7 separate regions of the Homo sapiens genome follow, and all the other regions are linked to region 5. The links are contacts of gene promoters, found by promoter capture Hi-C in human tissues and cell types (Jung and others, 2019). All regions are on one chromosome and are shown on one strand. The core of a region is centred on a gene start or on the middle of the fragment in contact, and the rest is flanking DNA. Distances in the headings are between cores, read along the strand shown.

The links. Contacts are between HindIII fragments. The study calls those that stand out against the background at their distance.
Region 1: a fragment that was not itself captured here is called in contact with the fragment with the promoter of LRRTM2 in region 5 in 2 of the 25 tissues and cell types used here (IMR-90 fibroblasts and hippocampus).
Region 2: a contact is called between a fragment that was not itself captured here and the fragment with the promoter of LRRTM2 in region 5, in 1 of the 25 tissues and cell types used here (hippocampus).
Region 3: a fragment that was not itself captured here is called in contact with the fragment with the promoter of LRRTM2 in region 5 in 1 of the 25 tissues and cell types used here (aorta).
Region 4: a fragment that was not itself captured here is called in contact with the fragment with the promoter of LRRTM2 in region 5 in 1 of the 25 tissues and cell types used here (dorsolateral prefrontal cortex).
Region 6: a fragment that was not itself captured here is called in contact with the fragment with the promoter of LRRTM2 in region 5 in 1 of the 25 tissues and cell types used here (hippocampus).
Region 7: a contact is called between a fragment that was not itself captured here and the fragment with the promoter of LRRTM2 in region 5, in 2 of the 25 tissues and cell types used here (aorta and heart left ventricle).

Annotation. Positions count from the first base shown.
Region 1 is chr5:139,212,894-139,216,280 of GRCh38, forward strand. No RefSeq gene overlaps it. Among named protein-coding and RNA genes, the nearest start is that of SIL1, 16 kb to the left of the region's middle. The HindIII fragment of the contact is 3,462 bases long and covers 1-3,319 here.
Region 2 is chr5:139,141,483-139,144,910 of GRCh38, forward strand. The region is part of intron 1 of SIL1 (SIL1 nucleotide exchange factor); the gene reads right to left. Among named protein-coding and RNA genes, the nearest start is that of SIL1, 55 kb to the right of the region's middle. The HindIII fragment of the contact is 4,818 bases long and covers 1-3,428 here.
Region 3 is chr5:139,305,140-139,308,888 of GRCh38, forward strand. MATR3 (matrin 3) reads left to right here. Exons shown (of 15, transcript NM_018834.6): 2 at 2,100-3,188. The coding sequence starts at 2,277. Among named protein-coding and RNA genes, the nearest start is that of MATR3, 13 kb to the left of the region's middle. The HindIII fragment of the contact is 3,519 bases long and covers 421-3,749 here.
Region 4 is chr5:139,276,680-139,280,425 of GRCh38, forward strand. It overlaps SNHG4 (small nucleolar RNA host gene 4), which reads left to right. Exons shown (of 7, transcript NR_182757.1): 4 at 1,648-1,729; 5 at 2,372-2,450; 6 at 3,256-3,379. It overlaps SNORA74A (small nucleolar RNA, H/ACA box 74A), which reads left to right and starts at 2,101; the gene lies at 2,101-2,300. All of the region lies in intron 3 of LOC124901081 (a long non-coding RNA gene), which reads right to left. It also overlaps a transcript of MATR3 not described here. The HindIII fragment of the contact is 3,306 bases long and covers 294-3,599 here.
Region 5 is chr5:138,873,500-138,877,068 of GRCh38, forward strand. LRRTM2 (leucine rich repeat transmembrane neuronal 2) reads right to left here and starts at 1,836. Exons shown (of 2, transcript NM_015564.3): 1 at 1,409-1,836; 2 at 1-1,057. The coding sequence starts at 1,412. All of the region lies in intron 7 of CTNNA1 (catenin alpha 1), which reads left to right. The HindIII fragment of the contact is 3,441 bases long and covers 1-2,170 here.
Region 6 is chr5:139,193,276-139,196,673 of GRCh38, forward strand. The region is part of intron 1 of SIL1 (SIL1 nucleotide exchange factor); the gene reads right to left. Among named protein-coding and RNA genes, the nearest start is that of SIL1, 3.4 kb to the right of the region's middle. The HindIII fragment of the contact is 8,977 bases long and covers 1-3,398 here.
Region 7 is chr5:139,158,793-139,162,326 of GRCh38, forward strand. All of the region lies in intron 1 of SIL1 (SIL1 nucleotide exchange factor), which reads right to left. Among named protein-coding and RNA genes, the nearest start is that of SIL1, 38 kb to the right of the region's middle. The HindIII fragment of the contact is 5,569 bases long and covers 1-3,534 here.

The DNA.
Region 1 (3,387 bases), core at 339-2,838, 340 kb after region 5:
TATAAGGTTCATCCATGTTGTAACATGAATCAGTACTTTATTCCTTTTTATTGCTGAATAATAGCCCATTGTATGAATATAAAAAAGTTGTACATGAATGTTCATAGCAGCATTCTGATGCCAAGTGGTAGATAGTTGGGTTGCTTCCACTTTTTGACTATTATGAATAATGCTGCTATGAGCATTCATATACACTTGACCCTTGAACAACACAAGTTTGAATTGCAAGGATCCACTTATATGCAGATTTTTTTTACCAAATGCAAATTGAAAATACAGTATTCGCAGGATGTGAAACCTGAGTATATGGAGGGCTGACTTTTTGTATACTCAGGCTCTGCAGAGCCAACTGCAGGACTTGAGTTTGCATGGATTTTGGTGTACTTGGGCGTCTGGAACTAATCCTTTGCATACACTGAGTGTTGATCATACAAGGTTACCTAGAAGTGGAATTGCTGGATTGTACGGTAACTCTGTGTATGTCCCCATTCTTGAACCAATCACTGTGGCCTAAGAATAGAATGGTATGAATGATTTAAACCTAAGTCACAGGTTCTTTTTTGTTTGTTTGTTTGTTTGTTTTTTTGAGCCGGAGTCTCGCTCTGTCGCCCAGGCTGGAGTGCAGTGGCGCGATCTCTGCTCACTGCAAGCTCCGCCTCCCGGGTTCACGCCATTCTCCTGCTTCAGCCTCCCGAGTAGCTGGGACTACAGGCGCCCGCCACCGCGCCCGGCTAATTTTTTGTATTTTTAGTAGAGACGGGGTTTCATCGTGTTAGCCAGAATGGTCTCCATCTCCTGACCTCGTGATCCACCCGCCTCGGCCTCCCAACGTGCTGGAATTACAGGCGTGAGCCACCGCGCCCGGCCTTGTTTGTTTGTTTTTTAAAGACAGGGTCTCACTTTGTTGCTCAGGCTGGAGTGCAGTGGCACAATCTTGGCTCACTGCAACCTCTTCCTCCCAGGTTCAAGTGATTCTCATGCCTCAGCCACCTGAGTAGCTAGGATTACAGGCATGTACCACCACACCCAGCTAATTTTTGTATATTTAGTAGAGACAGGGTTTTGCCATGTTGGCCAGGCTAGTCTCAAACTTCTGGCCTCAAGTGATCCACCTGGCCCAGCTTCCCAAAGTGCTAGAATTACAGGTGTGAGCTACTGCACCCAGCTTACGCCACATGTTCTACTCCTGATGCTGAGGATGGAGTCAGTTTCATTAGGACCACATGGAATGAAAAGAAAATGATGGTTCACCAGGAAGAAATGGGGTACAGTTATCAGATGGAGGATGAATGGAATCTAGGCAGCAAATCTACAGATGGTCATTGCAAATTGCCATATTAATTGAATGCTCACTATGAGCCCGGCACTGTGTTAAGTACATGCATTATCTCATGTGACCTTTACGACAGCCTCATAAGGATTCTATTATTCTATTACTCCCCTACAGATGCAGAAACTGAGCTCAGAAAAGTTGAATAAGTTGTCCAAGTTTATATAGCTGAAAATTGAGTGTTTGAACCCAGGTCTGATGCAAAGTGTCAGAGAAAAACAGATCTTGAGTTAGGCTAAAATATACCTGCTAAAGCGTCTTTTGCATCATTTGCCCAATATTTTTATAATCATTGGGGAAGAGTCTGTGTAACCACAAATTTCCTTTCACACCAAGGACAAGGAAGAACAGGTTTTTATCAAGAAAAAAATCATAGTTGACATTTTTTCCCTTTAGATTTCCAAGTAAGCTTCCCAATTTTGTCAGATATCACATTATTGGCATTGAGATTAAGCAGCTATATTTCTCAGAAAGTCTCCATGCTTTTTGTCACCACTCATCTTTTTCTAACAGGCCTAGAAATTCAGCTAAATTCTGCTTGTCATGTGATTAGGAAGTGCAGAACTCCACACCATGCTCATAACCTCCTCCAGAAATGATTTACAAGAGCTCTTCTGTAGTCCTCATGATGAGGGCCTGGGGCTAGGGATCTCTGACTCCCTACTCTCTACTCCTGTGGACCAGAACCCCAATGATGTGAGATGGATGGGACAGAAGATGTGAGGCAACCAAAGAGTTGAAGAATATAAGAAGTTGCATTTCATTGCCACCACCCGCCACCAATTCCGAAATGTCAGTCCTTAGAGCATCACAGGAGAATAACCTCATATTAAACTGTATACTGTATTAAGCTTCATACTAAGCTGCAAGCGTTAGCACCACACCGACTCCTCCTTGAGAGACCCCATCCCACTACCCCTCCTCCCTAGTACACACACATCACCATCAAAGCAACTTGCATCCCAAACCCTTGAAAGATTTACTGCCAGTACTGCAGACAAATCAGTGAATACCCGGCAGTCGATTCCAAAGACAGGATGCTCATTTGCATGAGGAGTTGCATGTCATTTGCATTATATTTGCAATCCATTTGCATATCACGTCTGCCCTGTCAAAATGTACATAAATGCTTTATACTTTCACTTTTTTTATTTTCTAAAGAGGACTACGCCCCCGCATCCTGCCCAGACTGTCTGGGAAAATTACTGGTTGAGTATTCCCAGCTTAATTGTGAAGAGCCTCACGTGCCATACTGAGGCGATTTCAAACTGTGGAAGAGCCCCAAGGATGTCAGAACCTAGCTTGAGAAACTTCATTCATTCATTTATTCAACATGTCTTTATTGAACACTTACGATGTGCACTGTTGTTCTAGGTGCTGCAGATATATCTGTAAATAATGAGATGAAAATAGTTGCAGCATTAAAAGTTAAATGCTGTCATTTCAGAAAATCACTTGGCACCAACCCAATCAATACATAATACAAGTGCAAAAAAAAAAAGGCACTAAAATTTCCTGAAAGTGCTTGGTTATAAGGTCATCCGGTGTTACAGACTATGCTTATGTCGTTATTACTATTTTGTTAAGATTAATCCTGGCCGGGCATGGTGACTCAGCCTGTAATCCCAGCGCTTTGGGAGGCCAAGGTGGGAAGATTACTTGGGCTCAGAAGTTCGAGACCAGCCTAGGCAACATGGCAAAACCACGTCTCTACAAAAAATACAAAAATTAGCCAGGTGTGGCTGTGCCTGTAGTCCCAGCTACTCTGGAGACTGAGGCAGGAGGATCACTTGAGCAGGGGAGGTCAAGGCTGCAGTGAGCCATGATCCTGCTACTGCATTCCTGCCTAGGCAACAGGGCAAGACCCTGTCTCAAAAAAAAAAACAAAACAAAAGATTAATCCTGAAATTAAAACAAATAGTAAGCTCCTTATTTTTTTCTTTTCTTTTCTTTTTAAAATAGAAACAGGGCCTCACTATGTTGCCCAGGCTGGTGTCAAACTCCTGGGCTCAAGTGATCCTCCCACCTCGGCCTCCCAAAGTGTTGGGATTACAGGC
Region 2 (3,428 bases), core at 714-3,213, 270 kb after region 5:
AAAAAAAAAAAAAAAATTTTTTTTTCATTAGCAGGGCATGGTGATGCAACTATGGTCTCAACTACTCAGGAGGCTGAGGTGGGAGGATGGCTTGAGCCCAGGAGTTCAGGGCTGCAGTGAGCTATGATCACACCACTGCACTCCAGGTTGGGCAATAGCGAGACCCCTATCTTTAAAAGCAGATGCATAAAAAATTGTTGAGTGGAAGTGAAAGCAGCAGAACCTAATGGCATACATATGTAAATTACTACTTTGGAAAGAAGTGTGTGTGGCCACCTCTATGATCACATGTGAACTTAGAATTATGGAAAACTGTGCTCAATGGAATCTTTCACCCTGAAATGTTAAATATCTGAGAAAACACTTTAAAATACATTATTTTCAGCACAGAACCTACTCCCTTATCAGCTGACTTGTTCTGATCTCCTGAATGGCTCAGAGGCCTTGTTCTTGTTCAGCAAACCCAAGATCAGACCATACACTCATCAGCCAAAGGAAACAGAGAACACATGGAAAAAGCCGCAGTCTTAAAGTCCAACTTAGCAACTTGACCCTGTAAGGGCAGTTTCCAGGCTGCATAATCAGAATGGCTGGCTGCCCAGACAGGCGGCCAAGATGGAAGTGTCAAAACAAAAAAGTATGGAAAAGTTCACCTGGCCCAACTTCAAAGCCAAAGCTCCAAAAAGGTAGGAGTTTAACAGGCACTTACTGGCCAGCAAGGTGCCTGTTAAGAAGGGTAGCAGTACACTAATCCTTCTCAAACTCTTCACAAAAACCAAAGAGAAGGGAAACACTTCCTAATTCATTCTATGAAGTCAGCATTACCCTGAAACCAAAGCAAGACAAAGACACTATAAGAAGACTCCAGACCAATATCTCTTATAATATACATGCAAAAAATCCTGAACAAAATACTAGCAAGCCAAAATTCAGCAGCATATTAAGAGAATTATACAACATGATCAAGTGGTGTTTTATCCCAGGAATACAAGAGTGGCTCAACATATGAAATGCAATCAATGTAATACACCACATTAATAGAATGAAGGAAAAAAACCACATGATCATTTCAATGGATACTGAAAAAGCAACTGACAAAATCCAATATCCTTTCATAATAAAAAATACCCAATAAACCCGGAATAGAAAAGAACATCCTCAACATAATAAAAGGCATATATGAAAAACCCACAGCTAGCATCATATTTAATGGTGAAAGACTGAAAGCTTTTCCCCAAAGACCAAGAACACGACAAAGATACCCACTTTCACCACCTCTTTTACTTATTTATTTATTTTTTTTTGAGATAGAGTCTCGCTCTGTTGCCCAGGCTGGAGTGCAGTGGCGCGATCTCGGTTCACTGCAAGCTCTGCCTTCCGGGTTCACGCCATTCTCCTGCATCAGCCTCCTGAGTAGCTGGGACTACAGGTGCCCGCCACCACGCCTGGCTAATTTTTTTTGTATTTTTAGTAGACAGGGTTTCACTGTGTTAGCCAGGATGGTCTCAATCTCCTGACCTCGTGATCCGCCCACCTTGGCCTTCCAAAGTGCTGGGATTACAAGCGTGAGCCACCGCGCCCGGCCACCCACTTTCACCACTTCTATTCAACATAATACTATAAGTTCTAGCCAGAGCAATTAGGCAAGAAAAGAATAAAAGGCATCCATATTGGAAAGGAAGATGTAAAACTATTCTATGTGCAGATGATATATACATATATATGTGTATATACACATATAAATGTATATACATATATGTATATATACATATATAAACACATATATACACACATATGTATATACACATGTGTATATACATATATACACACACACACACACACACACACACACACACACACACATATATATATATATATATATATGGTTTTTTGTTTTGTTTTGTTAAGATGGAGTTTCGCTCTTGTTGCCCAGGTTAGAGTAGCGGGGCGTAATCTAGGCTCACTGCAACCTCTGCCTCCTGGGTTCAAGCGATTCTCATGCCTCAGCCTCCCAAGTAGCTGGGATTACAGGCATGTACCACCACACATGGCTAAGTTTTTGTATTTTTAGTAGAGATGGGGTTTCACCTTGTTGGCCAGGCTGGTCTCGAACTCCTGACCTCAGGCAATCCGCCCACCTTAGCCTCCCAAAGCTCTGGGATTACGGGCATAAGCCACCACGCCCAGCCAATGATATGATCTTATGCATAGAAAACCTTCACAAATAAAACCTGTTAGAGCTAATAAATTCAGTAAAGTTGCAGGACATAAAACCAACACACAAAAATCAGTTGTATTTCTATATCCCAGAGATGAACGATCCAAAAAGGAAACTAAGAAAGCAATTCCATTTAAAACAGTATCAAAAAGAACACTTAGGAATAAATTTTGCCAATGAAGCAAAAGACTTTACACTGAAAACTACAAAACGCTGCTGAAGAAATAAAAGAAGATCTCCATTTCAATTTTTCTGTACAACACATAAATAAATAAAAAGTCATTTTAGGTTCATGATTCAAAGATATGATATTGCTAAAATGATAGTATTACCCAAAGCAATACGCAGATGCAACGCAATCCCTTTCAAAATTCCAGTGGATTTTTTGCAGAAATGGAAAAACCCATCCTAAAATTCACATGGAGTTTCAAGGGACCCTGAATATCCAAAACAATCTTGAAGCAGGAGAACAAAACTGCTGGGCACAGTGATTCATGCCTGTAATCCCAGCTACTTGGGAGGCTGAGGCAGGAGGATTGCTTGAGGCTAGGAACTCAAGGCTGCAGTGGGCTATGACAGTGCCATTGCACTTTAGTCTGAGTGACAGAGCAAGATCCCATCTCTTAAAAAAACAAAAACAAAAAACAGCAAAGTTGAGGGGAAAAAAAGAACAAAGCTGGAGAATTCCACAAGTCCAATTTCAAAACTTACCATAAGGCTAGAGTAATCAAAAGTGTGGTAATGATGTAAGGATAAACATATAGACCAATGGAATAGAATTGTGAGACCAGAATTAAACCCTCACATCTCTATAGTCAACTGATTTTTACAAAAGTGTTATTGAGTAAAAAGGGATTTTTAAAGGACGAAATTTAAAAGGCTAAAACTGGCAGGGTGCGGTGGCTCACACCTGTAATCCCAGCACTTTGGGAGGCTGAGGCAGGCAGATCACCTGATGTCAGGAGTTCGAAACCAGCCTGGCCAACATGGCAAAACCCCGTCTCTACTAAAAATACAAAAATTAGCCGGGCGTGGTGGCGGGCACCTTTAGTCCCAGCTACTCGGGAGGCTGAAGCACAAGAATCACTTGAACCCGGGAGGTGGAGGTTGCAGTGAGCTGAGACTGAGCCACTGCACTCCAGCATGGGCAACAAAGCAAGCCTCCCATCTAAAAAAAAAAAGTTAAAACTATACAGTTCTTAGAAGAAAA
Region 3 (3,749 bases), core at 930-3,429, 430 kb after region 5:
GAATTACACGTTGTCATGGGATTTACATTGTTTGTCTTGACTCTTTTCTGAGTTTTTCTGACATTCATTTTCTGTTTGTCTTAAGGTTATCCTTTACCTTTGCTTCTCTTAACTTTTTCCTTTTGTTGATCCACTGTTTTCCTATGAGCTACCAAAAAATGTAATTCAGAGCTCTGTAGTCTAACAGTCACATTTCCTTAAAATATGGCCGTTTTAAAAATTTTAAACATAATTGTAATACCATTATATAATTTCTCTTAGGGAAAAAATAATTCAAAAGACTGACTTTTCAGTAATGCAAAGCTTTGGCTACAACATGAAGGTCAAAGCTGCAATTAATAACCCTGATACTTCAACATTTTTATTTTGAAAAACCCTCTAAAGGATTTGATTTGTAAAAATATGTGTGAAAATTTAGAGGGTCCACCACCATTTACATAGCATCTCAGCCGCCATTCTGTCTGGCATTTATAAGACATATCAAAGAAACTTTCATCTGAAGAAGTCCACTTATTCTCGTCTTTATTAATCTTAAAGCTTAAGTAGTTTACATAGTGGATCTTGTCTAGAACTATTAATAGTTTCTTTGGTGTATTTTCTCAAATTCATCTTTCTTGGTGTGCAAAAACATCTTCCTGTAACTCCAGCCACCTCTTATAGCATTTCTGTGTCTTTTAAAACTTGATTATATCTATTTTTTAAAATCCAGTCTAAATCTTTCTTGCCTGCAACTTTTTTTATACTTCCTTTGCCACTGTATTTGTCCATTGTATCCTTGCTTTAATCTATCATTGGTGAAATTGATCCTGTAATAGACTTGTAACTACTGGATATTGTCTGGTTTTACTGTTAAAGTTTCACATATTAAGCTACCAGTGCTGAGTGTATTGGTGATCAAAAAATAGAAAATTTAAGCAATGCCTCATAGAATTCTGTACCAAACAACTTCAGATTTACCTCTGTATGTAGTTGTGATTATAAAATTGTTTCACTGAAGATGTTATGTATATCTTTCAACTAATATTTTATGACAATCGTGATATAAAAGATTTGGAAATTCTTATGTGACAGTTTCTGAGGTACAACAATAATGATTTAAGAAAGAAAACAATTTCATCTAGAAACACGTCTTGGGGGATCATAATCAGAACATAAATTTACCAGGTGATTTGGGCTATTCTTGTGAAAAGTTTACAGGAAACTGTGTAACCAAGATCTCATTTTCATTTTTACCTGTTTTGTGCTCTAGATGTGCTGTAGCCCTGAGCATTAAATGAGTACTGATGGATGCTGATTTGGGGAGTTCCCTTCTTTAAATCACCTGTATTTCCTGTACCTAGGTTTTTTCTTGGGAGGGCTCCTATTCCTGTACTGACCAGAGTTAGTTCTCCTTACTTTAAAAGACTAGATATGAAGTAAACACTGCCTGATGTAGGATGGTCAGTAAGAAGGCAATTAGTTGTATAACTTAAATTTGGGCAGCAATCCTTAAAACTATAGGAAATGACTTATTTTTCTTATTCACATCTATCTTCACCTCAAATTGATTTTGCTGTATAAAGGTCTCAGCTATTATGTTTGGTCTTATATCTTACATTAGGTACTTGAAACCTAAGCTTCATTTACTTGTGATTTTACTTGGTTCTTTCTGATAGTGATAATAGGTCTCATTTTCCAAAGCACAGTACAACTGATTCATCTTTGACTTGCTGACCTTGATTTTTTTGTTTTTAGTCTTCTGGAACTTAAGCATCATACTATAGGGTGTATTTTTATTCTTCTAAAAGAAGAAACCCATCTATATTTTTACTGAAATTTTGATGTACTCAGACATCTAACCTTTCAATTTACATGTTTTTAAACTCAGTATGAAAGTCCCTTTAATAGTTAAGCTTTAGCATGAAATACTACTTTTTAAATATCTATATGCAGGCTCTGCATACATCAGGAATCTGTTTAAGATATGTAATAAATTCCTTGTAAGTTTGAGATCTTAAATGTTTTTTTTTTAAATCAACATGATGCATAAGTTTTTTTTTCTTAAAAAAACGGCATCTGCTTAAAGGGATTTATGACTAAAATTGCTTATTTTTCTACAGAGTTGTCTGCTGGTTCTCAGCTTGAAGAAGATTCTGCAGTCCTTATTGATCCTTTTTCTTGGCGTTACCATTTTTGAAGCAAAGTTAACCTAGCTTTCTAGTTTGAGCTTTCTTTTTGGCCGTCTTTAAAAAAATTTTTTTTTTTAATCTATAAAATAGACAAGAGCTAGTTCTACAATGTCCAAGTCATTCCAGCAGTCATCTCTCAGTAGGGACTCACAGGGTCATGGGCGTGACCTGTCTGCGGCAGGAATAGGCCTTCTTGCTGCTGCTACCCAGTCTTTAAGTATGCCAGCATCTCTTGGAAGGATGAACCAGGGTACTGCACGCCTTGCTAGTTTAATGAATCTTGGAATGAGTTCTTCATTGAATCAACAAGGAGCTCATAGTGCACTGTCTTCTGCTAGTACTTCTTCCCATAATTTGCAGTCTATATTTAACATTGGAAGTAGAGGTCCACTCCCTTTATCTTCTCAACACCGTGGAGATGCAGACCAGGCCAGTAACATTTTGGCCAGCTTTGGTCTGTCTGCTAGAGACTTAGATGAACTGAGTCGTTATCCAGAGGACAAGATTACTCCTGAGAATTTGCCCCAAATCCTTCTACAGCTTAAAAGGAGGAGAACTGAAGAAGGCCCTACCTTGAGTTATGGTAGAGATGGCAGATCTGCTACACGGGAGCCACCATACAGAGTACCTAGGGATGATTGGGAAGAAAAAAGGCACTTTAGAAGAGATAGTTTTGATGATCGTGGTCCTAGTCTCAACCCAGTGCTTGATTATGACCATGGAAGTCGTTCTCAAGAATCTGGTTATTATGACAGAATGGATTATGAAGATGACAGATTAAGAGATGGAGAAAGGTGTAGGGATGATTCTTTTTTTGGTGAGACCTCGCATAACTATCATAAATTTGACAGTGAGTATGAGAGAATGGGACGTGGTCCTGGCCCCTTACAAGAGAGATCTCTCTTTGAGAAAAAGAGAGGCGCTCCTCCAAGTAGCAATATTGAAGACTTCCATGGACTCTTACCGAAGGGTTATCCCCATCTGTGCTCTATATGTGATTTGCCAGTTCATTCTAATAAGGTGAGTTAACTCAACAGATGCTTCTAATTTCTTTTACATTGTAGTGCCTATTTACCTATATCTTTGACTCTAATTCTGTAGTCTGATGACATTGAGTTGATCAAGCATTTTTAAACTTTTGAGAACACTTACTTTATTTGGAAGGTAATTGTTTTTGAGCATTTTAAACCAGGGCTTTACATTAATATATTCTGCCTAGATTACTTCTGGCCACAAAGCTATCATCCACTGAGATTATCTTGTTGGTTTTTGGCATCAATATGTTCTTCTTAATCATATATTTAAGCAGGTTTTTTTTGTCTGCTTTGTTGAATTGTTTTAAGTATTTTTTTTGCAGTCAATGTGCTCTGCCATTCAGGATGCTAGATTTCAGCTCTCCATCTGTCTTGATTGCTGATTTGTATGTAGTAAAGATGTATTCTTGAACAATTCTCTTTTTTTCCTTATCTGTGGCTACAGGGAAAGAGTTAATGTAGAGCCCTGGTGTTTGTTTCAGTATGTTTCATATTTTAGATTAGTTCATTCTTCCTTTTTTAATTTCCCTTTAACACAAACTCTCAT
Region 4 (3,746 bases), core at 697-3,196, 400 kb after region 5:
AATAGACGGAAAAGTCACACCTTTATTTTTAGTGCCTACCAAGGGCTCAAAGGGGGCCAGATACAATGGGATTTTTGCTAATTTCACTGAAATTAAAGTCCATGGCTCCTACTACCCACCATAAAAGCTAGTCATGACACCCTTTGTAGAGGGATGGATTCCCTATTAGGGAAACATTGATGGTAATTCACTTTAAAATTATGGGCATTCTCTAGCTGTTTAATAAAATATTAAAATATTGATTGAGGGGGCTCTGGGAACTGAACAACTACAACCACACTAATTTCTCCTTTGGGCTGACAGTATATTTGCTTTAGTTGCTTACTGATTTTCAGAAATGAACAGTTGTTGCCCCATTAAAGTGGTAGATATTGAGTTCCCTTTGTAGTAATTTTGTTTTGGAATGCTTTTTCCCAAGTAGTTGGGATGATAGGTGTGTGCCACCACAACCAGATAATTTTTTTTTTTTTAATTTGTAGAGACAAAGTCTCATTATGTTGCCCAGGCTTTAGTAGAGACAAGGTTTCACGACGTTGTCCAGGCTGGTCTCGAACTCCTGGGCTCAAGTGATCTCCTGCCTCTCAAAGTGCTGGGGTTACAGGCATGAGCCACTGCACCGTGCCTGGCCTGGAATGCTAATCTTTTGAGAAGAGATGACCCTCGGTTGCTGTGAAAAGTGACATACTAGTTTCCACAGGAGGAAATGGGGAGGATGTTGGGGGGCAGGGGAGTTGTTTATCAAAGCTTGTTTTGTTAGATCAGTTGGCATTCCCTTAATAGGATTCTCTCAACTAAATGTGAGTGCTTTGTGTGAATGCCTCAACTGTGAATAGCCTTTTACATATGGGGTCTTAAGGCTAGTGATATCTGTAGGGCTTGGGGGATGGTTAGCTTTATAGTACTATAGGCAGGGAAAAGGCAAATAATGGTAAATAAAATAATTCCTGAGGCTATAGAAATTGGGGTAAATGGCAAGCAGCATTCTATTTCCATCTCTCCAGATAAGGGTCCTTAGGAGCTGCTATTTTAGACCAGGGTGCCAAACATTCAAATTCATGGGAAATATATCATGTCTGCTCGTCTTTTTTTTTTTTTTTTTTTAATTGACAGTAATTGTATATGTTATATGGGGTACAACATGAGGTTTTCATACATGTTTACATTGTGGAATGAGTAAATCATGCTAGTTAACACATCTAGCACCTCACATACTTATATTTTGTTGTGGTGAAAACATTTAGTATCTTTTAGCAATTTTGAAATATACAGGCCAGGCACGGTGGCTCGCACCTGTATTCCCAGCACTTTGGGAGGCTGAGGTGGGAGGATCATTTGAACCCAGGAGTTTGAGACAAGCCTGGGCAACAGAAAGAGATCTCATCTCTATAAAAAACAAAAAAGAAATTAGGTGGGTGTGTTGGCATGCACCTGTAGTCCCAGCTGCTTGGGAGGCTAAGCTGGGAGGATCACTTGACCCAGGAGATTGAGACTACAGTGAACCATGGTCATGCCACTGCACTCAGTCTAGACAGAGTGAGACCCTATCTCAAAAAATATATATATATATATACACACACACACACAATGCATTGCTATTTATTATATTCTGTGTACTAGATCACTAAGTTTGCTTGTCTTCCTTTTTAGGATGACTTGAAAGTAGGGCATCCTTCACCCATCTGAAGGGAGGAAATAGTGGCAGGTGACAGTCTGCATGTGCAGTTTTCAGGTAAATATCCCTATTCATTCCAACATTGACTACCTCCTCTGTGCCAGGCCTGTGGGCTAGTTGGTATCTATCAGGAAACAAATGGGAGGTAAATTAACCTGTATTTGTAAGATCCATGAAGGAAAGGACAATATATCTTGTTTTATTCACTGCTAGATCCCAATCGCAGTGCTTGGCACATGGCAGGACCTCCCTGAATGTTGCATAAAACAACTGAAAACACAGAAGGGGATTCCTGTTAAAGGGTTTGACAACAGGGTCTGCAATTAGTGCTTCCACGCCTGTTTTGCAGTCAATATTCAACTGATACGTCTTCTACCTGGAGTGCCTAGGTATCTGAAACAAATAATGAGAAAGCTGTTTCAGGAATCATCCAGCGGTTGTCAGCTATCCAGGCTCATGTGGTGCCTGTGATGGTGTTACACTGTTGGAAGAGCAAACACTGTCTTTATTGAGGTTTGGCTCCAAGCACTGTTTTGGTGTTGTAGCTGAGTACCTTTGGGCAGTGTTTTGCACCTCTGAGAGTGGAATGACTCCTGTGGAGTTGATCCTAGTCTGGGTGCAAACAATTTTTTTCTGTTTGCAGAAAAAGACAGGTTGTCTTAGGGACAGCCTGTCATTCTTTACCTCTTTGAATCCTAGATGCCTTCACCTGAATGACATCTACCTCCATCAGGACCCCAGATGTCTGACAGCCCTGTGTGACACCAAGATAAGTAACGTATGTAGTCTTCTTGTCATGTAGGTCCCAATTAAATTACTATAGCTCAGATGGGGGTAGGGGACTTAAAATTATGATGTGAAAAATTATGTAGAGTATCAGACTTTTTTTTGGGGGGGGACGGAGTCTTGCTCAGTTGCCCAGGCTAGAGTACAGTGGCTCGATCTCGGCTCACTGCAACCTCTGCCTCCTGGGTTCAAGCGATTCTCCTGCCTCAGCCTCCCGAGTAGCTGGGACTACAGGCACCTGCCACCATGCCAGGCTAATTTTTTTATTTTAAGTAGAGACGAGGTTTCACCATATTGGCCAGGCTGGTCTGAAACTCCTGACCTTGCGATTTGCCTGCCTTGGCCTCCCAAAATGCTGGGATTACAGGTTTTTTTGTTTGTTTTTTGAGACGGAGTCTCACTGTCTCCCAGGCTGGAGTGCAATGGCGCAATCTCGGCTCACTACAACCTCTACCTCCTGGGTTCAAGCGATTCTCCTGCCTCGGCCTCCTGAGTAGCTGGGATTATAGGCGTGCACTACCACGCCCAGCTAATTTTTGTATTTTTAGTAGAGATGGGGTTTCACCATGTTGGTCAGGCTGGTCTCGAACTCCTGACCTCGTGATCCACCTGCCTTGGCCTCCTAAAGTGATGGGAGTACAGGCATGAGCCACCGCGCCCAGCCAAGTATCAGAATTTTAGAGAATTCTTAGGATCTAAAGTCCATCCCTCACTTTTCTGGAGCTCTGCTGTGCAGTAGGTATATGCTACATGTGGCTGTGTAAGTTGATAAAAATTAATCAATTTCTTAATCTCAGAATCTGGCTGCTGACTACCCTATTGGACAACTCCAATATTAGAGAACATTTCCACCAATTCAGAAAGTTTATTATGCACTGCTGTTCTAGAGCAGGGATCAGCAAACTTGCTGTAAAGAGCCAGGTAATATAATATTATGCTTGTTCAGCCATGTGGTTTTTGCAACTATTTTTGCAGCTCTAGTGCAAACACAGCCTTAGACAATATCAACACATGAGCAAGTCTATAGTTCTAATAGAACATTATTTATGGACACTGAATTAGAATTTCATAAAATTTTCAGTGTCAAAATTGTTTTCAATGATTTACAAATTTAAAGACCATTCTTATTTTGAGAGCCATACAAAAACAGCAGGCTGGAATTGGCCCATAGGCTATGGTTTGCCAACCTCTGTCCTGGAGAATGAAATTCAGGCCTTGAAAGTTGAACAGCTCATTAGTGACAGGTTCAGAGCCAATAGCAATGTGTCTTTCTGAAAAGTTTAATGTT
Region 5 (3,569 bases), core at 586-3,085:
ACTGCATCTAGAATATCCTCTCCTTGGGTGTGGTCAGGACTGTGGCATAGGATGGAGTGTTCCCACCGACCTTGGAAACTGCCCAGCCAGGAGGCCAGAGCACATATTCGGGCGCTGCATTCCCACAGATTGCCAGAGAGACCAACGGTTGTGAGGGATCTCAGGGAGTTTAAGATCTTGGAATCAAGGCTGTTTAACTTGTTGTTATCCATGAGGAGTATTTTAAGATTGGGCATCGTTTCAAACACTGTCAAGTCGATGGCTTTGATTTCATTTCCAGTCAGGTCTAGCTTTTCTAAAGTGCCCCAGGTCCACTCCATCCCACATGTCAAGTTGCTGATTTTGTTCCATTGTAAGAAGAGCGTGTGCAGACTGCTTAGCCGTAGGAAATGAGCAAAATTAATCTTCGTCAGCTGGTTGTGCTCTAGGTGAAGCTCTCTCAGTTTAATTAATCCTGCAAATCCATTGCGAGCCAAACTTCGCAAACGATTTGTGCTCAAATCCAGAAACTCCAGACTACGACAGTCCCAGAACAGGCGTACTGGGATAGTCCGCAGGGAGTTGGAACGTAAATGCAAGGTCTGCAGCTTCCGAAGGCCATAGAAGAGCTCTGGGTGCAGAGATGACAGCTGATTAAAAGACAGGTCCAAATTTTGCAGGTTAATCAGTTGGGTAAAAGTTGTGTTTGGCAAGTAAAATATTTTGTTGGAACTTAAGATTAATTCCTTAAGTTTATATAGTCCTTGAAAAGCATCTTCTTTTACTGTTGAAATTTGATTGTGATCTAAGTGGAGCCAAGTAAGTTGACTGAAGCTGGCAAATTGATCTCTTTCGAGCTCTGTGATGTGATTGTGCCTCAGGGACAGGCCCAGAGAGCCCTTGTCTGTGGCGTTTGGCACTGAGTGGAAGCCCTGAGAGTCGCAGTAGAAGAGCAGCTTCTCGCAGCGGCATTTGGGTGGACACGCCATACCCAGGGCAGGCAGCATTTTTAAAACCATACTCATTGCATATATTGCTGCCAGCATAGGGGCCCCTAATGGCCACTTGAAATGTAAGCCTGCAGAATATAATTTAAGGAAAACAAGAAGATAGGATATTTTTCAGCAGAACATATGGGCTATTTAAAAAAAACAACCACCACCAACATTATAGCAAAAGATTTCACTGCATATAACTTATTTTTCATTTACTGCAGAAAAATTAACCTTATTGGTATGACTGGACCAAAACTTAAGCCATTTAAAAAGAAGATAAAACATGTCTCTGTCATCATCGATATATGCTTTTACCTAAACCTCAAAATCCAAAATATGATGGTGATTTCCCTCATAAAATGTGAATTCGGTAGCTTATTTTAAAAGCGTGATTCCTTGTTGAATGTACAAGACATATAAATGCACAGACTTACCCATTCTTCTGAGCACATTGGAGGCTGCATTCAGTCGCGGTTGTTAGACTCAACGCAGTGAGTCTGTAAAAGGCTCTAACATGTAGGAGCCTTTGACCAGTTTCCTGTTTTCTGTGTCCCAGGCTTTCCAAGTAAAATTGAATCCACCAGGACGAGTTGTTTTTTCCTTAGGATATCCCTCTGGAAAGCATTGGTTTCATTTTCTGTGATTGCTCTGATCCCTAAATCAGTTTTGAATATAAGTTATTAAATTTCTCCACCTCTAACTGCTCAGCTGGTTAATCAAAGCTTCAGTCTCCTTTCCGCAGCCGTTAGTTCTCTTGGTCTTAACTTGTTGATGGCAGATGGGTGGCTTGTTGCAGAGAAGAGCTCCTGGAGCAGCATGAGTGCATTTACTGAAAAGCTTTTCCGAGAAACGGCACAAGAATGGATTTGCTTATGTGCTGCGACCACACAGAACTGTATATAGGCTGACGTCACCGGATGACGTGTCTTTTGTTTGGGTTTTCCAGAAGCTTTACTGTTATAAAGCACCATGCTTTGTAACAGCATCGGGGTCGTTGCAGGACCCCCTGATTACAATAAAGCGAGAAAGAAGAACTCCTGACTTAAAAACATGATATTCCTTCAGTGTAGGAAGCAGCAGTGAGGTTGTAATAAAGGCTGCATTCAAGAAGACCCATCTGAACAGTGAGTTGGGTTAGCAGAGTGATGATTTTTAATGCTTGTGAGAGCCAGTGTTAGACTGCCGATTCTGCATAGAGAGATCATCTAAATGGGCAGAAGCCTGCACAATTTATGAAGTGCTGATTTAACACCAGCCTATGCAAGGTAGTGTCGCTGCACTGGTAGTTTGGAAAGCTATTCAGTTGCCTTGTTGTCATGCTTGGTTAAAATCAAAGTATGACTATGATTTGCTTTAGATGTGTTGATAAACTAGCTAAGTGGGCTTGGCTTGTTTGTCATCAAGAGCTTAACATTATAAACGAAGAATAAAGGGGGAGGGGAAGCTTGCAAAACAAAGCATGTGGTTATTTTTTTCTTTGAGAATTTCAGGGGAACTCTAAAAAGATTTCTCTTTCTCCTATTTTATAACAATGTTTTGTCGCCATACTGATTGAAAAAATAATGCTGAGTTGATCTTTAAATGTCCTCCTGGGAGGACAAGGCAGGTTGATACAGTCATTTTAATGCACATGCCCTAACAGCAAAGCAGAGATGATTTAGGACAAGTGATACCGTGTAGCTGGATTCTGACATGGCCCCTTGTATTTTACCTCAGAATCTCACCTACTCCATAACTAAAAGCCTCCGCTGGTACTGAGGTTGGTGGTTGTGACACTGAAATAATAGAGCATTTGCACCCTAGTTCCCAGCCACCAAGTGGCTGACTTAACTGAGCCTACTGCTGTTGTTAGAACCTGTCTTGTGAATACAAAAGGTCACTCATGCTTTGGACTGGGATTTTTGTTTTGACTTGATTTTGCTTGCCCTAACTCCAGTTTCTCCCTGTTGAATGGTGTCTTCACTTTTCAGACCTCAGTTGTGGATGTATAGCTCCATGTTTAGTGTTATATAAATGCAAAAGATGTTTCTAGATGTTATATTTTCAGGCCTGACAAAGGTAAGCCCTTTTCTACATCTTGCCTTATTGATTTGACCCAACATACCTATTTCTCCCATATCATTGGCACTTACCCTTTGTGGGTCTTGTCTCAGACCTAAGGACAGACATCTTTAAAACTACTGATGGTGTCTGTGAAACAAGAACATCGTTGGCCTTTTTGGTTCTGAGGGATTCATCCCACTGGGCAGATCTAAGAAGTAATTGTCTTGGGTAAAATTTTTCTGTTGTAGTGTTGTGCTGGAGTGAGAGCTGTGAGACTCCAAGGTCCCTTCCTTAGGGCTCTGTGTAAAGGTGCTATGAAAACTGCAGCAGTGCAGGTGTGTGGTTTGAGTCCTCCTAGAAGTGATCCCAAGGTAGAATTAGAAGTACAAGAGGCAAAAATGCCTACGAAGTACAAAGGGAGACAGAAGGCAGCAGGAATGCTCTGAGAGTCTTCGTACCACAGGGCAGGTCTGACACCTGTGAAGGGACAGAGGAAGCAAAGAAGATGAGATTGGCATTGTGGTTCTTAGACACATTTTGTAGGCTGAATGG
Region 6 (3,398 bases), core at 232-2,731, 320 kb after region 5:
GGGGGTAGCTGGGCACGATGGCTCATGCCTGTAATCCCAGCACTTTGGGAGACTGAGGTGGGCAGATCACTTAAGGCCAGGAGTTCAAGACCAGCCTGGCCAACATGGCAAAACACAAAAACTACTACTAAATAACACAAAAATTAGTTGGGCATGGTGGTGGGCGCCTATAATCCCAGTTACTCAGGAGGCTGAAGCACAAGAATCACTTGAACCCAGGAGGCAGAGGCCACAGTGAGCAGAGATCACACCACTGCACTCCAGCCTGGGCGACAGAGTGAGACTCCCTCTCAAAAAAACATTCCACTGGGGAGTAGACAATTAAGGGAAAAAAAGTCTCAAAATATGATAATGAACAAAAGGTTGAAAAATAATTAGATGAACCCAAAGGGTTGAGTCTTAGATGAACCCTAAGGGCACAGTGTTCATTAACTTGTATAATGGTCATGGGTAGGGTAACTAACTTGTCCTGGTTTGCCCCGGACTTTCCTGCTTTTGGCACTAAAAGTCCCACATACGGATATCCCTCTGTCCTGGGAAAACTGGCATGGTGGTCCACTCTTCTCAAGAGAGAGATCAATGAAGGCATTCCCATTTCACAAATGAGGTGACACCAAGAAACACAGTGGTTGTCACGGATTCACAGCACTTTAGCAGCATTCCTGAGGCAAGGCTGGCTCTTTCCATTTGTCTAGTCCTATGCTCACAACTCTCTGCCCCTGATTTCCACTTTGGCAGAGAATGTTACTCATGAATTGATTATGCCACTTCCTTCTCAATACCAAAGCCAAGGGCAGTATTAGGAGGATGAAGGCAAACATGGCCAGCCAGCATAATCACAGCCATGTCTTACAGCTGCCTGGTGGAACCTGAAGGAACTACAAGTCTGGGCTGAATATAGTTTTGTTGCTACTGGATTCTGGGTACAAATTTGCAAAAGTAAGAATGCCAGGTGTAAACTCCTCACAAGCTAGGAAAATTCCTAGCTTGAGGTTCTCCACATGTGTCTGAGCAGCCCGAATCTTTTACAAGGTTTTTGTCCCAAAGATGAACTCAGTTATTGCTTATGCTAGGAATCAGGGGTTACCCAAGGCCTCACTCTGAATGGCAACAGGCTATTCTCCTACTCCCCTACTCAGCAGTGAAATCCTTGGTGAAAGTAAAGGAAGAAAAGAAAAGGGCATGCTATTCCGTCTTTAGTCTACGTATAATTAAAATACAAGACTCTCTGCTGTAGAAGACTAAGGTTTGCAGTTTAAGGCCGACTCAGAAAAGGATAAAGTATTCATCCTTGCTCAGAAAGAGAGAAGATTAGCTCCACAGGATGGGTCTCCAAATTGACACCAAATCCAGGAGTTAGAGATGGCTGTGCTACAGAGCGTGATCCAAGCACCATCTGGAGCCCCCAGAAAAAAATCCCTAGGAATAGCGACTAAGGGACTAGCATTGTAAGAGAGTTCAGATTAGCTCTCCTGAAAAGAGGCTTACTACAAGAGACTGGCAGACAGCCTCTGCAGCAAAACTTCACTTAGGAAAGGACAGAAAATGAATGAAGAAAGACAGGGGGAGGCTGAGCAGGTCAGAGTATGAATCCACAAGTATGTGAAAAAGAGAATCCACCTATTTCGAAAAAGGTACAACTTCCTTTCAGAGCCTTTTTTTTTTTTTTTGAGACAGAATCTCTCGCTCTATCACCCAGGCTGGAGTGCAATGGCACAATGATCTCGGCTCATTGCAACCTCCGCCTCCCGAGTTCAAGTGATTCTCCTGCCTCAGCCTCCCGAGTAGCTGGGATTACAGGCATGCGCCACCACGCCCGGCTAATTTTGCATTTTTAGTAGAGACGGGGTTTCTCCATGTTGGTCAGGCTGGTCTTGAACTCCCGACCTCAGGTGATCCACCCACCTCAGCCTCCCAAAGTGCTGGGATTACAGGTGTGAGCCACCGCACCCGGCCAGAGACTCTCATGTTCTTTTGAATATTCTCATTAACGGCAAATCTTCATTCTTTGAGGGTGAAAACATTTATTGCATTCCTATGTCCCAAGAGCTTTCATGTGTAATACGTCATTTAACCACCCTTCAAAGTAAATATTATTCCCAGTTTTTTTTGTTTTGTTTTGTTTTGTTTTGAGACGGAGTCTCGCTCTGTCGCCCAGGCTGGAGTGAATGGCGTGATCTCCGCTCACTGCAAGCTCCGCTTCCCAGGTTCACGCCATTCTCCTGCCTCAGCCTCCTGAGTAGCTGGGACTACAGGCACCCACCACCTCGCCCGGGTAATTTTTTGTATTTTTAGTAGAGACGGGGTTTCACCGTGTTAGCCAGGATGGTCTCGATCTCCTGACCTCGTGATCCGCCCACCTTGGCCTCCCAAAGTGCTGGGATTACAGGCGTGAGCCACCATGCCCGGCCCTATTCCCACTGTTATGTAGTGGTACATTGAGCCCCAGAGGTGAAGTAACTTATCCAAGGTTATGTGGCTAATAAGTGGTAGACTCAGAATTAAAACTCATGTTCACCACCCTCCAAAAATCTGTTATTTCCACTTCAAAAGAACTGTTAACTCATCTGAAGACAAGGCAGGTGACAAGGTTGCTTACCCATGCCATTCGGGGTTAAATATATATAGGCTGTGTGCAGTGGCTCACGCCTGTAATCTCAACATTTTAGGAGGCCAAGACAGAAGAATCGCTTGAGGCCAGGAATTCAAAAACAGCCTGGGCAACACAGCGAGACCCTGTCTCTACAAAAATTAAAATTACAAAATTAGCTGGGCCTGGTGGTGCGCCCCTGTAGTCCCAACTACTCAGGAGGCTTTAGTGAGAGTATTACTTAAGCCCAGGAGTTCAAGGTTGCAGTGAGCTATGATTATGCCACTGCACTCCGGCCTGAACCACAGTGTGAGACCCCATCTGAAAAATAATAATAATAATAATACAGTATGGTTTAATATATTAAAGAAACTGATCTCTCGCATGGTTCAAAAAGGTCTCTGAAAACAATTCCAGAGGTGGATTTTCAAAACTGCCTTGGACAACAGCCAAATCACTTAGGCACGCCATCCTCAACTCCCACCACCTACACCTGCACACATCACTCTAAAGGAGAACATTCATTGGTGGATCAAGTTCCCACATGTCAGTTATTTTAAAATCCATTTTGTTACCTTTCAGTTTCACTTAATTAGCCTCTTCTCCTGCCAATGAAACACACCAGGGCTCACAGTTGGCCTCAGTAGAGAAGTAATAGCTGGCCTTCAGAAAACAGCAGGGAAGGGGAAGTAAGTGGGAATCAAAGTACTAGGCAACTTTTCATTCCTGGACTGCCGCATCCCTACTAACATTTCCATCACCTGTAAAATGGGAGCAGAACGTCTCTTCTATTGCCAATTTCATTAAA
Region 7 (3,534 bases), core at 550-3,049, 290 kb after region 5:
TCTAATTTTTTAAGCTTCTTAAGATATTCTGGCTCCAAATTAGCTTTCTTTGCTTAGTCCTAGTTATTGCTTTAGCTCTCTTCAAATGGGCCCCTAAAGATGTTGAAAAAATGTAACTGAAAGGTCAACTGGTTCCATGGGAACTGCAGGGAGACTCTCTGACATCTTGCTCTGAAATGCTATTTTGTAACTTTATAGGATAATACCCTAGAACTAATCATGGTAAAGAATTTCCCATTCCCCCTGGCAACAGGGCTAATGGAGGCTACAGGGGACAAGGGGAAAGAAAGATGGTACTAAAAGAGAGAGAGGGAAAAAAAAAAAGGCCCCATCTCCTCATTTAGCAGCACATGCGCAAAACAGTTTCCCAAATTCTACCCAAATCACTAGGCTAACACTGATGCCATCCAATTCCAAAGCAACATGTCACACATGACACTGTCCTTTCTGATGGAAGAAAGGCCAGCAGGATGTGAGGAGGTAAAGAACTGGGGCAGCAAAGAGGGGATGGAGAAGAAATATAAACCATAAATTAGGGCCGGAAGCCCTGCTGCTTGTCCTGCCAGGAGCTGGCAAGGAAGGACTGAATCAAGTTTCTGAAACGTAAGACCATGAAAGGGGATGTTAAAATAAATTGAGAGAAAACGGAAAAAGATCAGAGGAGAGAAGAGTCTTATTGCACCAGGTTTGCAATTTGTCTGCTTTCTGAGCTGAAGCTCTGAGTACCAGATTTTTTAAGATTTATTTTAAGAGCTTTGAGGCTTCTTGGGGAAAAAAAAAATCACTAATTGTACCTCTTTCAAAGTTTCCAGAATTTTGCTGCAATGGAGGGTATTTGCATGAAGCAGGACAAGTTCCTCTTAGAGAAGTGCCTATTCTTTATAACACAGTTGTGCTTGTGTGTGTGTGCATGTGTAAGAGAAGAGAGACCTTTGGAAGCTGTTTCCCCCACAGCAGTATATTAGTCCATCAGGTGCACAGGTGAAGAATACAGAGGCTGATCCACTCAATTCTTGTGAACACAAAGGTTGGCAACTGATTTTGAAGTTCTTACTCAGGATTTAAGAAAGAAGAGGAAATCAATGCAAGTCAAAATAAAAAGAGATGCAAGTATGTTTACTTTCTAAACAAAACAAAAACCCTCAACCTAAAAAAAAATTTCCTTTTAAAGGCAGCCTCATTAGGCATCACAGAAGTGCAGGCCATTACCATCCCTGAAGGTCAAGAGCATCTCAAGTTTGGGGACCCTGGCTGAGGTACCATTACATGACACAGATTCACAAATGACAGTCACAGTGGGGTGGGAGAGCCTAACTGTGCATTTTACCCATCCCAATCACATTTCCACAATCACACACACACACACACACACACACACACACACACACACACACAAAAGTTATAGCCTGGAGGAGTAGAAGAGATGGAGCCTAACATATTACCTACAACCCTAGCCAGAAGACAGCTGTGAAAACTTCCGAAAGAAAACACTCCTTTGAAGAACTGCAGAAACAACACAGGGGCCAGGAAACAGAGCAAGTGAAAAAAGATTAAAGGAATGAGGATCATCATTTAGCACTGAAAAGGGGCAGTAAAAGAAGTGAGCAGAGCCTTAATAATGATTTTTGAGCCCAAAGTTGGTTGAGAGAGCCACTCTACCAAAAAGCTGTTCTACCAAAAAACTACCTTCTGGTAACTACTAGAACCTTCAAATCCCTGTCTTGCTGGTGTATAGCTGAAATTCTTGCATAAAAAAGGGAGCGAGGCCAGGTGTCGTGGCTCATGCCTATAATCCCAGCAGTTTGGGAGGCCGAGGCAGGCAGACCACCTGAGGTTAGGAGTTGGAGACCAGCCTAACATGGTGAAAACCCGTCTCAAAATGCAAAAATTAGCTGGGTGTGGTGGCACACACCTGTAGTCCCAGCTACTCAGGAGGCTGAGACAGGAGAATTGCTTGAACCTGGGAGGTGGAGGTTGCGGTGAGCCAAGATCATGCCACAGCACTCCAGCCTGGGAAACAGAGCAAGACTCCATCACAAATAAAAAAGGGTGGGGGTAGCAAGAGTTTCACTAAAAGGGGACTTCTACATAAGTTTAAACATAAAGACTATTCCAGAAGGATAGGGGATAGTCAGTAACTAAAGCAAGTTAATAGTAACAAGAATAACAGGCTGGGCGCGGTGGCTCATGCCTGTAATCCCAGCAATTTGGGAGGCTGAGGCGGGTGGATCACCTGAGGTCAGGAGTTTGAGACCAGCCTGACCAACATGGTGAAACCTCGTCTCTACTAAAAACACAAAATTAGCTGGGCATGGTGGCGCATGCCTGTAATTCCAGCTACTCAGGAGGCTGAGGCAGGAGAATCGCTTGAACCTGGGAGGCAGAGGTTGCGATGAACTGAGATCGCGCCATTGCACTCCAGCCTGGGCAACAAGAGTGAAACTCTGACTCAAAAAAAAGAATAACCAAATACCCTCAGTCAGCCACAAGGCCAAATCTTTAAATAAGGGAAATGAAGGAGAAAGCTAACAAGCAGGCTGTCCAATATCCTTCATTTGAGAGCCGTATAGTGAAGAGTAGACAACATCTAAGTCAGGTTAAAGGTAACCATGTGCTTTGAGAAAAGGAAAAGGAGAAGCCAGCTTCAGGTGGGAAAAAGGAGCCCTAGACATGAGTAGAGACCAGTATCTGCAGGGCTACAGTTCTCAACACACAAAGAATTGTTTTTGGGAAAGCTAATGAACATCTGTCGGCTAACCCTGTTCTAGACACTCTCTCTTTCTCATATCCATCCCTGGGATTTTATTATCTTAAGAACCAGGTCTTTGAGCACCAATAACATTTAGGACTCAAACGTTTTCAAAAGTGACCAGAGTCCCACATCTTCCTTACTCCCAGGAGCTTGGAGCACTTCCCTAGAAAAGCAAAGAATTAGAATTGCTGGCCAGGTGCGGTGGCTCATGCCTGTAATCCCACCACTTTGGGAGGCTGAGGTGGGCAGATTGAGTCCAGGAGTTTGAGACCAGACTGGGCAACATGGCAAAACCCCATCTCTACTAAAAACACAAAAATTAGCTGGGCATGGTAGCACGCTCCCGTAGTCCCCACTACTTGGGAGGCTGAGGTGGGAGGATCATCTGAGGCTGGGAAGTGGTCGTTGCAGTGAGCCAAGATCATGCCACTGCACTCCAGCCTGGGCAACAGAGAGAGACTCTGTCTCAAAAAAAAAAAAAAATTAGGATTGCCTAGGCCTTACCAGGTGGGCACACCAGCACTGAGCAGTCCCCCTACAGTCTCTACAGCTCCCAAACATACAGGCCCTACGAAAGGAGAACAGTTACACTGGCCAATATTTGCCATGAAAAACCAGGCCACTACCAGAAAGAGAAGCACTATCCCCTCTGACCTCTCCATGTCTCACCCTGCCACCCACTCACATTCTGTGAATTTGTTTCTATCTGGCCATTGTCAATTCCTGTCTAATGACCTTATCTAAGAACTTAGGGAGTACTACAAAAAATGTCAGTAAAAAAT